Regions from separate parts of the Homo sapiens genome. Here region 1 is linked to region 2. The links are contacts of gene promoters, found by promoter capture Hi-C in human tissues and cell types (Jung and others, 2019). All regions are on one chromosome and are shown on one strand. Each heading gives the region's core, a stretch centred on a gene start or on the middle of the fragment in contact. The rest is flanking DNA. Distances are from core to core; before and after follow the strand shown. Region 1 overlaps LOC100288728 (a long non-coding RNA gene). Region 2 holds the start of OR1G1 (olfactory receptor family 1 subfamily G member 1).

What was found. Contacts are between HindIII fragments. The study calls those that stand out against the background at their distance.
Region 1: a contact is called between a fragment that was not itself captured here and the fragment with the promoter of OR1G1 in region 2, in 10 of the 25 tissues and cell types used here (dorsolateral prefrontal cortex, heart left ventricle, lymphoblastoid cells and 7 more).

The regions. Positions count from the first base shown.
Region 1 is chr17:3,169,270-3,176,779 of GRCh38, reverse strand. All of the region lies in intron 1 of LOC100288728 (a long non-coding RNA gene), which reads left to right. Among named protein-coding and RNA genes, the nearest start is that of OR1A2, 24 kb to the left of the region's middle. The HindIII fragment of the contact is 5,977 bases long and covers 1,040-7,016 here.
Region 2 is chr17:3,122,321-3,129,739 of GRCh38, reverse strand. OR1G1 (olfactory receptor family 1 subfamily G member 1) reads left to right here and starts at 2,189. Exons shown (of 1, transcript NM_003555.1): 1 at 2,189-3,130. The coding sequence starts at 2,189. The coding sequence ends at 3,130. The HindIII fragment of the contact is 6,207 bases long and covers 1-6,197 here.

The sequences.
Region 1 (7,510 bases), core at 2,779-5,278, 45 kb before region 2:
ACCCCTTTCTTTGACTCGGAAAGGGAACTCCCTGACCCCTTGCGCTTACCAGGTGAGGCAATGCCTCGCCCTGCTTCGGCTTGCGCACGGTGCGCGCACCCACTGGCCTGCGCCCACTGTCTGGCACTCCCTAGTGAGATGAACCCGGTACCTCAGATGGAAATGCAGAAATCACCCGTCTTCTGCGTCGCTCACGCTGGGAGCTGTAGACCGGAGCTGTTCCTATTCGGCCTTGTTGGCTCCTCCCCCTGTTTTCCCTTACTTCTGACTCCTCTTCTTCTCCCCTTTGCTAGAAGGATGCGCATTGGAATTAGGGGTGCTGTGGAAGGCAATCGAGTTCATTTTTCTTGTTTTTTTTTGTTTTGTTGTGTTTTGAGATGGAGTCTCACTCTTGTTGCCCAGGCAGGAATGCAGTGGTGCCATCTCGGCTCACTGCAGCCTCCGCCTCCCAGGTTCAAGGGATTCTCCTGCCTCAGCCTCCCATGTAGCTGGGACTACAGGCACCCGCCATCATGCTTGGCTAATTTTTGTATTTTTTAGTAGAGGTGGGGTTTCACTATGTTGGCCAGGCTGGTCTCCAACTCCTGACCTCAGGTGTCTGTCCACCTCAGCCTCCCAAAGTGCTGGTAGAGGCTGTTTTGCCTGTTTAGGGCTTTCAGTGATAGGGAGCCCCCCACAGTAAAGCGACCCACCCCACTTTGGATTGGGTTCCCATTTTACCTTGTGATGCTGTAGCCTGGGCATTTTTTAGTACTAACCAGTTGGGGCTCACTGGACATTCAGGAGCATATTAATTTCCATATATTTGTATATTTTCCAAAAATTTCTCTCATTATTGATTTCTAGTTTTATTCCATTGTGGTCAGAGAAGATACTTGATATTATTTGAGTTTTTTTGAATGTGTTAAGACTTGTTTTGTGACCTAACATATGGTTTATCCTTGAGAATGATTCATGTGCTAAGGAGAGGAATGTGAATTCAGCAGCCATTGGAGCAAATGTTCTATAAATATCAATTAGATCCATGTAGGTCTATAGTGCAGATTAAGTCTGAAGTTTCTTTGTTGACTTTCTTTCTGGAAGATCTGTCCAATGCTAGTGGGCTGTTGAAGTCTCCAGTATTATTGCATTGGGGTTTATCTCTCTCTTTAGCTCTAATAATGTTGCTTTATATATCTAGGTGCTCCAATGTTGGGTGCATACATATTTAAAATTGTTATATCCTTTTGCTGAATTGATCCCTTTATCATTATATAATGACCTTCTTTGTCTCTTTTTATAGTTTTTGCTTGAAATTTATTTCGTCTAATATAAATATACCCACTCCTACTCTTTTTCCACCCCTTTATTTTCAGTCTCTGTGTACCTTTATAGATGAAGCGTGTTTCTTGTAGGCAACAGATCACTGGGTCCTGCTTTTTTTCAGTCAGCCACTCTATGTTTTTGATTGGATAGTTTAGTCCATTTACATTCAGTGTTATTATTGATGAGTAAGGACTTACCACTGCCATTTTATTATTTGTTTTATAGTTGTTGTGTGGTCTTACTTTCCTTCCTATCTTTTCCTTTTTTTTTTTTTTTTTTTTTTTTGAGATGGAGTCTTGCTCTGTCGCCAGGCTAGAGTGCAGTGGCACGATCTCGGCTCACTGCAATCTCTGTTTCCCAGGTTCAAGTGATTCTCCTGCCTCAGCCTCCCAAGTAGCTGGGATTACAGGTGCCCGCCACCATGCCTGGCTAATTTTTGTATTTTTAGTAGAGATGGAGTTTCACCATGTTGGCCAGGATGGTCTCGATCTCCTGACCTCGTGATCCACCCACCTCGGCCTCCCAAAGTGCTGGGATTACAGGCATGAGCCACTGCGCCTGGCCCTCCTTCCTTTTTTTTATTTTAGTGAAGGTGATTTCCTCTGATAGTATGTTTTAATTTCTTGCTTTTTATTTTTTTGTGTATCCATTGTATGTTTTTGGATTTGAGGTTATCATGAGGTTTGCAAATAATGTGTTATAACCTATTATTTTAAACTGATGGCAACTTAACATGATTGCATAAACAAACAAGCAAAAAGAAAATGAATAAAAACTTTACACTTTAACTTCATCCCTCCACCTCTCTAATTTTTTGATGTTTCTATTTATATCTTATTGTACTATCTGTGTCTTAAAAAGTTGTTTTGGTAATTATTTTTGATTGGTTCTTCTTTAAGTCTTTCTAATTAAGATCAGAAGAATTTACACACCACAATTAATATTCTATGTACTTACCATTAGCACTGAGTTTTGTGCCTTCAGCTGATTTCTTATTGCTCGTTAACATCTTTGTCTTTCAGATCGGAGACCATCCTTTAGGATTTCTTGTAGAACAGGTCTAGTGTTAATGAAATCCCTCAGCAAGCTGTTTCTCTGGGAAGGTTTTTACTTCTCCTTAGTATTTGAAGGATATTTCCACCAGATACACTCTTCTAGGGTAAACTTTGTTTTTTCCTTCAGTGCTTTAAATATATCATGCTACTCTCTCCTACCCTTTTCTCCACTGAAAAGTCTGCAGCCAGATATATTGGAGCTTCATTGTATGTTATTTTTTTCTTTTCTCTTGCTCCTTTTGGGATCCTTTCTTTATCTTTGATCTTTGGAAGTTTGATTATTAAATAACTTGAGGTAGTCTTTTTTGGGTTAAATCTGCTTGCTTTTCTACAACCTTCTTGTATATTGATATCTTTCTCTAGGTTTAGGATATTCTCTGCTATTATCCCTTTGAATAAACTTTCTATCATTATCTCTTTACCTCCTCTTTAAGGCCAATCACTCTTAGATTTGCCTTTTTGAGACTATTTTCTAGATCCTGTGGGTATGCTTCATTCTTTTTTATTCTTTTTTTTTTTTTGCCTCCTTTGTGTATTTTCAAATACCCTGTCTTCCAGCTTACTATTTCTTTCTCCTGCTTGATCATTTTTTCTATTAAGAGACTCTGCTGTATTCTTTTGCAGGTCAATTGCATTTTTCAGCTTCAGAATTGCTACTTGATTCTTTTTATCCATTTGAATTTCTTTGTTAAATTTATCTGATAGTATTCTGAGTTCCTTCTCAGTGTTATCTTGAATTTCTTTGAGTTTCCTCAAAACAACTATTTTGAATTCTCTCTCTGAAAGTTCACATATCTCTGTTTCTCCAGGAGTGGTTCCTCTTACCTTATGTAGTTCATTTGGTGAGGCCGTGTTTTCCTGGATTGTCTTGATGCTTGTGGAAGTTTTTCAGTGGCTGAGGATTGAAGGGTTAGATATTTATTGTAGTCTTGCCAGTCTGGACTTGTTTGTACCTGTCCTCTTGGAAATGCTTTCTAGGTATTTGAAGGGACTTGGGTGTTGTGATCTACATTTTTTTTTGTCACTGCAGCCATATCTGCATTAGGGTGCACCTCAAGCTCAGTAATGCTGTGGTTTTTGCCAACTTGTAGAGGTACCTACCTCCTTGGTGGTCTTGGATAAGGTCCAGAAGGATTATCTGGAGTACCAGGCAGAAACTTTTGATCTCTTCCCTTACTTTTTCCAAAACAAATGGAATCTCTCTCTCCCCTTCTCTGTGCTGAGCTTCCTGGAAGCTTCCTGAGCTTCCTGGGGGAGGGGTAACACAAGTACTCCTGTGGCCACCACCACTAGGGCTGTGCTGGGTCAGACCTGAAGACAGCACAGCACTGGGTATCATCCAAGACCCACTGTTACCACTCCTTGGCTACCACTTGTGTTTGCTCAAGGCCCTAGGGCTCTACAGTCAGCAGGTGGTAAAGACAACCAGGCTTGTCTTCTTCACTTTGGACTGCCAAGTCACCCAGGCCCTGGGTGAGTCCAGAGATGCCATCTGGGAGCCAGGGCCTATAGTTGGAAGCCTTAGAAATCTACCTGGTGCTCAATTTACTGCATCTGAAGATGACACCCAAACCACAAGAAAAAGGCCTTCCCACTCTTCCCCCACCTTTCCTCAGACAGAGGAGTCTCTCCCCATGTCCACCACCACCACAGGCCCATAAGAAATACTGACAGGTGTATTAGGCTGTTCTTGCATTTCTATAAACAAATACCTGAGATTGGATAATTTAAAAGAAAAGAGGTTTAATTGGCTCATGGTTCTGCAGCCTATACAGGAAGCATAACACTGGCATCTGCCTCTGGGGAGGCCTCAGATAGCTTTTACTCATGGTGGAAGTTTGAGGCACTTTACATGGTGAGAATGGGAGCAATAGAGAGAGAGGTGGGGAAGGGGCGTGCTTCACACTTAATCATATTTTGCAAGAACTCACTTATTATCACAAGAAAGCACCAAGCTATGGAGAATCTCCACCCATGACCCAAACACCTCCCATCAGGCCCCATCTGCAACACTGGAAATTATAATTCAACATGAGATTTGGGCAAGGACAAATATCCAAACTATATAATACCATTTCTGGTCCCCCACAAATCTCATGTACTTCTCACATTGCAAAACACAATCATGCTTTCTCAACAGTCCCCCAAAGTCTTAACTTGTTCCAAAAGTTCAATTTCTCATCCAAGACAAGGCAAATCCCTTCCACCTGAGTTTATAAAATCAAAAACAAGTTATGGACTTCCAAGATACAATGGGGCTATAGGCATTGGTTAAACATTCTCATTGCAAAAGGGAGAAATTGGCCAAAAGAAAGGAGCTGTAGGTTCCACTCAAGCTTGAAACCCAGCAGGGCAGTCATTAAATCTCAAAGCTCCAAAATAATCTTTGACTCCGTGTCCTACATCCTGGGCACACTGATATGAGGAATGGCCTCCCAAGGCTTTGGGCAGCTCTACCACTGTGGCTTTCCAGGGTTCAGCCCCTGTGGCTTCTCTCATGGCCTGGAGTTGAGTACCTGTGGCTTTTCCAGGTATAGGGTGCAAGCTGCCAGTGGATCTACCATTCTAGGGTCTGCAGGGTGGTGGCCCTTTTTCCACAGCTCCATTAAGCTGTGCCCCAGTGGGCACACTTTGTATGGGTCCTCCAATCCCCCATTTCCTCTCCTTACTGCCCTGTGAGGGCTCTGCCTCTGCAGCAGACTTCTGCCTGGATGTCAGGCTTTCCCATACATCCTCTGGCATCTAGGTGAAGGCTGCCAAGCCTCCTTCACTCTTGCTGTGCCCCTGCAAGCTTAACACCACATGGAAGCCACTAAGACTTATGGCTTACATTCTCCAAAGTGGCAGCATGAGCTGTACCTGGGCTCCTTTGAATCACAGCTGGAGCTGGAGTGGCTGGGATATGGGAACAGTGTCCCAAGGCTACACAGGGCAGCAGAACCCTGAGCCTGGCCCAAGAAACCATTCTTCCCTCCTAGGCCTCTGGATCCATGATGGGAGGGGCTGCCATGAAGGTCTCTGAAATGCTTTCAAGGACTTTTTCACATTGTCTTGGATAGTAGCACTTGCCTTCCCTTTAGTTATGCAAGTATCTCTAGCAAGTGGTTGCTCTACAGCCTGCTTGAATTCCTCTCCATAAAAAGTTCTTTCTTTCTTTGCCACATAGCCAGGCTCCACATTTTTCAAACTTTTACATTCTGCTTCCTGTTTAAATATAAATTCCAACCTTAAGTTATTTCTTTGCTCCTGCATCTGAGTGTGGGCTGTTAGAAGCTGCCAGGCAATTTCTTCAATGTTTTGCTGCTTAGAAATTTCTTCTGCCAAATATCTTAAGTCATCATTCTCAAGTTCGACCTTCCACAGATCCCTAGAGCATGAACACAATGCACCCCAGCTCTTTGCTAAGGCATAAACTGGGTGACCTTTGCTCCAGTTTCTAGTAAGTTCCTCATTTACATCTGAATCCTCATCAGCCTGGACTTCACTGTCCATATTACCATCAGTATTTTGGTTACAACGATTTAGCCAGTCTTTAAGAAGTTCGAAACTTTTCCACATTTTTCTGTCTTCTTCTGAGCCCTTCAAACTCTTCCATCCTCTGCCCATTACCCAGTTCTAAAGTCACTTCCACATTTTCAGATGTAGCCATTTTCAGGTATCTTTATAGAAATTCCCCTCTTCTCAATACCAATTTTCCATGTTAGGCTGCTCTTGCATTGCTATAAAGAAATATCCAAGACTGGGTAATTTATAAGAAAAGAGGTTTAATAGGCTTACAGTTCTGCAGGCTGTACATCAGCATCTGCTTCCGGGAAGGCCTCAGGGAACTTTTCCTCTGGCAGAAGGGTGCAGACACTTCACATGGCAAAAGTGGGAGAGAAAGACAGTTGTTATGGGAGGTGCTACACACGTAAACAACTAGATCTCTCAAGAACTCGCTCATGATCACGAGGCGTGCACCAAACCGTAAGGAATCTGCCTTCCTGACCCAAGCACCTCCCACCAGGCCCTATCTCCAACACTGGAGATTACAATTCAACATGAGATTTGGGCAGGGATAAATATCCAAACTATGTCAGCAGGCTACTGCCGGTGTTCGCTTAAGGCCCCAGGGCTCTTCAATCAGCCTCATGGTGAATGCTGCCAGGCCTGGGACTCACCCTTCAGGGCAAAAGGCTCCCTTTGGGTCCAGGGTATGCCCAGAAATGCCATCCAAGAGCCAAGAACTGGAATCAAGGACTCCAACAGCCTGCTTGGTGCTCTACCCGACTGTGGCTGAGCTGGTACCTAAGCTGCAAGACAAAGTCCCCTTTGTGCTTCCCTCTGCTTTTCTTAACCAGAAGGCATCTCTTTTCATAGACAGTACAGCTGTGAGTGTACTGGGTCTAACCTGAAGCCAGAATATCTGAGTCTCACCCAAGGCTGATGGTGTGTACTACTTGGTTACTGCTGCTGATTATTTGGGGCCCAAGGGCTCTTTAGTCAGCAGGTGATAAATCTTGCCAGGACTGAGTTCTTCCCTTCAAGGCAGCAGGTTCCCTTCTGGCCCAGGGTGTGTCCAGAAATGTCTGGGAATTTGGGCCTGAAATGGGGGCCTTGCAACTGCCCAGTGCCCTGGGCACTGTGGCTGAGCTGGTATCCAAGTTGCAAGACAAAGTCCTCTTATTCACTCTCAAGCAGAAGGGCCTCTTTCAAAGCTGCAAGCTATGCTGCCTCGGGTTGGTGAGGGGTGGCACAAGCACTCCTTTAGCTGCCCCATCTGGTGTCTCACTAGGTCACGTGCCCTCCCCTCCAAGTCCACTATCTCTGAGCCCAGCACAGCACCAGGACTCACCTAGCAGTTTCAGTCCTTGTGGCCTAGACTGCATTTCAAGTTTTTGCAGGACCCCAGAGTACTTTAGCCTGTGGTGGTGAGCCTTGCTGAAACTTGGGTTCTGACCCAGCTGCTGGGATGGGCAATTTTCCTCTGGCTAGAGTTTGTCTAAATGCGCCCTTCATGGACATTAGCTGAGTTTTACCCACGGTTGGCAGCACTGACTTTCAATACAAAGTCCCACACTCACTGCATTCTCTCTCCCCCAAGCACTCAGTCTCTCTCTGCACCATGTAGCCACTGCTGGGGGATGGGAGAAGGGCGACGTCTGTAATTC
Region 2 (7,419 bases), core at 940-3,439:
CTGTAGTCCCAGCTACTTGGGAGGCTGAAGCAGCAGAATTGCTTGAACCCAGGAGGCAGAGGTTGCAGTGAGCCAAGATTCTGCCACGGCACTCCAGCCTGGGTGACAGAGTGAGACTCCGTCTCAAAAATAAATAAATAAGAAATATCCATGGTCAGAGAGAGAATAAGACATAAGATGCCACTATTGCCTAGTAAGTAGTAATTTTAGTGTACGTAACTAAGGCTTACAAATCCATAGGTTATATTAAACTCTGAAGGTAAAAAAAAGCGGCACAGGGAAACTGATTCCGTGGGTTAATCACTCAGCTGAAACACTGTTCCATCCCAAGAATTTCACCTAGAAAGAATGCATTTGTTTGGAACACTTATCTCTCTGTAACCGTAGTGTTTCCCTACATATTCCTATGGCCAGGACTCCATTAACTCAAAGCTACCACTGAACCTACTAACAAAAAGGTTGGCTGGGTGTGGTGGCTCATGCCTGTAATCCCAGCACTTTGGGAGGCCGAGGCAGGTGGGTCACCTGAGGTCAGGAGTTCAAGTCCAGCCTGGCCAATGTGATGAAACCCCATCTCTACTAAAAATACAAAAAAAAAAAAAAAAAAAATAGCCAGGTGTGGTAGCAGTGGCCTGTAATCCCAGCTACTCAGGAGGCTGAGACAAGGGAATCACTTGAGCCCAGCAGGTGGAGACTGCAGTGAGCTGAGTTCGTGCTACTGCACTCCAGCCTGGGTGACAGAGTGAGACTCCATCTCAAAAATCATAACAATAATAATAAAGGTTCAGGCTAATTCTTATGCCTGATATTACCTCTATAGCAAAGCCCCTTTCCATTCTTCCCACTCTTTCCATTCTCTGGGGTTTATGTATTTACATGATAGATTCATACTGAGCATCTGTGTTGTACCAGCCTCAAGGCTAATGCTAGATTTCAAAGCTGAGCCAATTAGGCACCATCTCTGCCTACTCCCAGTGATGCTCACAGCAGAATGAGGGACACTCATATAAACAGACACTCAGAATCCAAGGTGACACGTGCTGTGATGGGGGAGGCACTGCATTAGGAAGGTCACGAACCTGAGTTTCTGGTGAGAGGATGAGTTGGGAAAGACTTCCCAGAAGAGGTGACATCTAAGGTGAGACCTGAAGCTTAGCTCGTCTGATAAATGGGATGGGAAAAACTATTTCAGCCTGAGAAAGCCTAAAGGTGAGGGAGTATCTGGGCCTTTAAAATAATTGAAACTATGATTAGTGCATAAAGTGTGGAGTGGAGGAGGGAGTTTCATGAGGAACTGGGGATGTCTGTAATAAATGACGGTAAGATCCAGGACATTCAGCCGTGTTCAGTTTAGAGTTTATCCTGGGAGTAATGAGGAGTGTATGAAGGATTTTTCAAGCAGAAAGACAAGAGTCGAATTTGATTTTTAGCAAGCCTATTCTCTGTGTATTTAGAACAGCAGGTGGCAGGTGGGCATACCTGGGGGCATGGAGATCAACTGCCCAAATCCAAGTGAGAAATCACAGTGCCCTGAATGACATGAGCTGCAGCTGGGACTGATGGTGACCAGTAAACAGAGAGACGTCAGTAAATTGTAGCCATATTGAGAAGGTAAAATTGCCAGGCTTTGGTGGTGGTTGGATGTAGGCAGGGAGGGAGAAACGTGGGTCAATAATGACGCTCAGGTTTCTGGCCAGACCCGCTGTGTAGATAACAGTGATAATGATTTCCATGTTAGCCATGCTTTTCCCAATTCCAAAACCCCTTTCCAGGAGCTGTCTTTTTAATTATTGGTACAATGGGCTCATTTGACCTGTAAAATCTTGGGTTGTATAAATGTCATAGTTTCTACATGAACACTACCAGAGCAAAGCCAGCAAGCCCCTCCAGCCCAGCCCCAAAATACACATATTGGCTTAATGCTTATGGAATAAATTTAAAAGCCTCTCATTGCATTACAAACAAATCTGTGGTTTCTCATAGCACCAAGCACAGGAATTTGCAAATATTTAGTCGAACCCTATGAAATGGCCATTTTTGCAGGTCCCAAAGAGTCAAATAGTGGAGATTTCCTATGATCCAACCTCACACTAGAAGATCAACACTGGAATATTGCATAATTTTCAGAGTTCACAATCCAGGGCTTACCAACGTCACCCAATTAACCCAACTTTCTTCCTACAGACAAATGGAGGGGAAAAATCTGACCAGCATCTCAGAATGTTTCCTCCTGGGGTTCTCTGAGCAGCTGGAGGAGCAGAAGCCCCTCTTTGGGTCCTTCCTGTTCATGTACTTGGTCACGGTGGCAGGCAACCTCCTCATCATTCTAGTCATCATTACTGACACTCAACTCCATACCCCCATGTACTTCTTTCTAGCCAACCTCTCCCTTGCAGATGCCTGCTTTGTGTCCACCACAGTCCCTAAGATGCTGGCAAACATACAGATCCAGAGTCAGGCCATCTCCTACTCAGGGTGTCTACTACAGTTGTATTTTTTCATGTTATTTGTGATGCTGGAGGCATTCCTCTTGGCGGTCATGGCCTATGACTGCTACGTGGCCATATGCCACCCACTTCATTACATTCTGATCATGAGCCCTGGGCTCTGCATCTTCCTCGTGTCTGCATCCTGGATCATGAATGCCCTCCACTCCCTTCTACACACACTTCTGATGAACAGCCTGTCCTTCTGCGCAAACCATGAGATCCCACACTTCTTCTGTGACATCAATCCCCTCCTGAGTCTGTCCTGCACAGACCCCTTCACCAATGAGCTGGTGATCTTCATCACTGGGGGTCTCACAGGACTCATTTGTGTGCTTTGCCTGATTATCTCTTACACGAACGTTTTCTCGACCATCCTGAAGATCCCATCAGCTCAGGGGAAGCGGAAAGCCTTTTCCACCTGCAGCTCTCATCTCTCCGTGGTCTCTCTCTTCTTTGGGACTTCTTTTTGTGTTGATTTCAGTTCTCCCTCAACCCACTCGGCCCAGAAGGACACAGTTGCATCAGTGATGTACACAGTGGTAACTCCAATGTTGAATCCCTTTATCTACAGTTTGAGGAACCAAGAAATAAAGTCTTCCCTGAGAAAGTTAATCTGGGTTCGGAAAATTCATTCCCCTTAGTGGTAGTGACTTGACATCCAATATGGGGGTCTCCATGCACCTGCGTTCACCACAGTAAGCAGTGAAGAATGAAAGATGGAGAGAATCTAGAGACCTCTGTTCCAGTACCTACGATCTGAACCTGAAATATTCATGTCTAAGCTACAGGACTGCATCATAACCCATCATCAGGCCAATGTCACAGGTGAAGTTCTTACAATTATGTTCTAAAACCACAGCCATCCAGATGTATAATATAATGTCATGCCTTATTATATTTACTATAGTTAATAATATTGATGATTTAATAATGTTATTAGTTAATGCTTTTTAAACAACATGGGACAGCTCATGACTGAAATAAGGGAATATCTGGCTGGGCTGTTGTATAGGGCCAAGAATAAAATTCAGGGAAGGACGACCTTCCCCCAGCATCACTGTGATCCTGATCACTCGGATCCCCACCCACAGTGTTTCTGCCACAGGCACTGCCCGTATCTGTGATGCTCCCATGCTCAGTGATGAGGAACTGGGTCTAGGAAGGGCTTGATGGAGATGGCATCTTCAGACAGACTCACTGCAGTGTCTTACCAGGCCTCCAAGACCCATAATCCTCCTGCCACCTTAGACTTCATGTGAAAACCTCAGGTTCCTCTTCAGGGCAATTTTTTCCACACTCATTTCATCTCTGCAGCCCCAATGCTTACCACATGGCGTAATGCCTGGTACCATTGATAGGTGCTGAATCCCACTGAAATGGTTACAACTTAAAGTTAGGGGAAAAGAATGATTTTTATGGACACTTTATGCTCTCCTGCCTGAATGATTAAAGCCTCCTCCTAGTTGGTCTTCAGTCCTCAGTCTACCCGCCTTCCATCAACTCTGTACACCATAATCAGATTAATCTTCATAGGGTACCATTATATCACTAAGAGAAATGTCCAGTGGCTTGAAACTGCCTGCAGAATCAACTTCCAGCTGTTTACCGTAGCATGCGAGCCCAGTGCCACCAGTTCATAACTGATGTCCACAGTTAACCACACTCTTCCGTATTTCTCCCAAGGTCAACTCAGGCCAACGGTTTCAGAATACATTGATTATTGTGCATGGTTGCCAAAAACGACTTGGAAAGCTTTGTCAGTAGACGTTGTGGCAAGACTCTGTACAGTACGTTACAGCCACAACCAATACGTTTCTATAGGAAAATAAAATGTCACAACTGGGTGCTGTTTTTCATTCTTGTTGTCTGTTTACCTTCAGGTATCTGACTGCAGGCTGCTGTGCCATAGATGGTAATTGCTGTAGATAATAGCAATTCTAGCTCACCAGCTCCCTATTCACCTTATCTGAAGCCCAGACACGATCGTCTGATAATAAAAGGTAGTAGAGCAAAGTGGTAAGCAGCGTGGACGCTGTGGAATCAAGTTCAAACCCCGGCTTTGCCACGTTTAAGCTGTGTGATCCTAGGAAATTATTTAATGTTTGGAAAAAAAAAAAAAAAAGAAAAAGCCTACCTCATTGTGTTGTAAGTTTAAATATGATAATATATGTAAAGCATTCTCTGTGATAATTAAATGAAATGTGCATAAATACACATACAGGGTTAACTCCTAGTACGTAGTGTATTTTCAATCGGTGTCAGCCATTGAGGTAGAAGCTCTGAAGCAGGTTCACTGTGCACCGGTTACCAACTTGTCCGAGTCGAGTGAAACAGAACACCCACACAGACAACAAGTGACATCAAGCACGTTTATTATTCACAGATAGGCAGCAAGGAACAACAGACGCCTAGGATTCACCTCGAGCTGGTCCCCCAAGGCTCAGAAAAGCTGCACAGGGGGAATGAGTCTCACATGCAGGTACTCCACTTACACTACAGCTGAGAGACCCTATAAGGCAGCCCACCTTGGGCCTTACACCCTGGGGGTCACAGGATCCACTTGGCTAAACGGCTGAAGAACATTTCTTTTTTATTTTTTTATTATTTTTTTTTTTTTGCTTTTGCTTTAAGTTCTGGGATACAAGTGCAGGACGTGCAGGTTTGTTACATAGGTACACACGTGCCATGGTGGTTTGCTGCACCTATCAACCTGTCATCTAGGTTTTAACCCCCGCATGCATTAGGTATTTGTCCTAATGCTCTCCCTCCCCTTGCCCCCTATCCCCCACGACAAGTCCCGGTGTGTGATGTTCCCCTCCCTGTGCCAATGTGTTCTCATTGTTCAACTTCCACTTATGAGTGAGAACATGTGGTGTTTGGTTTTCTATAACATCCTATTTCTAGGGCAAGTGGATCAGAACCTGGGCTGTTGCATCCAGCTCTTCCCTATCTCAGGATGTCACATTCTACAGTTATTCTGGAAAACTATAAGCAAGAAAAGGGGGAAACCTGGTTCATTCAAGGCCACCCAGAGAACTGTCCTGCATTAGCCCTTCTTAAAATGAAAGCTGAGCAGTGGCAGATAAAGTGAATCCACTCCTCGGAACTGCGAATAAGGAATGACTTATTGCCCGCACTGTGAACCGGGAAGGGACACTGCTGAAATTACACTTTTGGGGACATTGTGGCATTTAATGAGGAATTACCTACCTACAGAGATTCATTTGCAAGAAAGATTGCAACCTACCTTTCAAATAATGCATACTAGGTACTTAACAGTAAAACTCTGCCTACTTAATTTAAAATACAAAAGTTTTTACATCATCCCATATTCTCTCCTAATTCATTGACAGACATGCACCTTTCACTGTTTAAATTAACATGCATCCATACTTTTAGTTCTACCTTTTTAACTTAAATTATTTGTTACTCTTTTATATGTATTTTTTGTACAAGAATGTCCATGTAACAACACAGTTTACATGTTTGTCATATAGTATTTGAGGTGTGCCTATATACTTTTTTTTTTTTTGAGACAGTCTCACTCTGTCACCCAGGCTGGGGTGCGGTGGCATGATGCTGGCTCACTGCAACCTCCACCTCCTGGGTTCAAGCAATTCTCATGTCTCAGCCTCCCGAATAGCTGATACTATAAGTGCACACCATGACGCCCGGCTAAATTTTTGTTGTTGTTGTATTTTTAGTAGAGATGGGGTTTCACCATGTTGGACAGGCTGGTCTTGGTACTCTTGACCTCAGGTTATACACCTGTCTTGGCCTCCCAAAGTGCCGGGATTATAGGCGTGAGCCACCATGCCTAGACACTCTTACACCATAGTTTGATCAAAGATTACTCTACTGTCAAGTTTATGGATTAAATCAAATTTTTGAATATATAAATATGATTTTTATAAGCATATTTTTGTGTGATTTACTCTCCTAGCCTACCTTCTTTAAAAATATATCCAGCAATAATTACAGATAGTTTTAAAGCTAATTTTCTTTAATTTCCTTAATTTGCCAAATTGCTATGAAAATGTAAAAGATCATCTAGAAAGAAAATCAATAAGGAAACACTGGACTTTAATTACACTTTAAACCAAATGCACCTAACAAACATGTACAGAACATTTAATCCAACATCGACGGAATCCATGTACTTCTCAAGTGCACACAGACCATTCTCCAAGATAGATTATCTTGTATGTTAGACTACAAAAAAGTCTTAACAAAATTAAGACTATTGAAGTCAATCAGGTATCTTTTCTGATCACAATAGTATGAAACCAGAAATCAGTAACAGGAGAAATCCTAAAAAATTCACAAATATGTAGAAACTGAATAACATACTCCTAAAAAACCAATGGGTCACTGAAGAAGTCAAAAAGGAAATAGAGACAAATGAAAATGAGACTACAACATACAAAAACTTATGAGTACTTTTCTGCATCGTATAAGCAGGAATTGTATAGTAACAAATGTTTATATCAATTAACAAAACTCAAATAATCTAGCAGACTAAGCTCAAGTTAGCCAAAGAGAGGAAATAAAGATCAGAGCAGAAATAAAATAGAGACGAGAAACAATGAAAAACAATGAAACTAAAAGTTGTTTTACTGAGTAAACAAAGCCAACAAAGCGTTTCCTAGACTAACTAGGAAAAAAGAAAGAAGACTCAAATAAAATGAGAAATGAAAGTGGAGACATTACAAATGATACCACAGAAATACAAAGGATCATAAGAAACTAGTATGAAAAATTATACACAAACAAAATGGATAATCTAGAAGTGGACAAATTTCTAGACACACACAACCTACCAAGACTGAATAATGTATCATGAAGAAACAAATTCTGAACAAGACCAATAACAAGTAAGGAGATTGAGTCAGTAATAAAAAGTCTCCCATCAAAAAGAAGCCCAGGACTC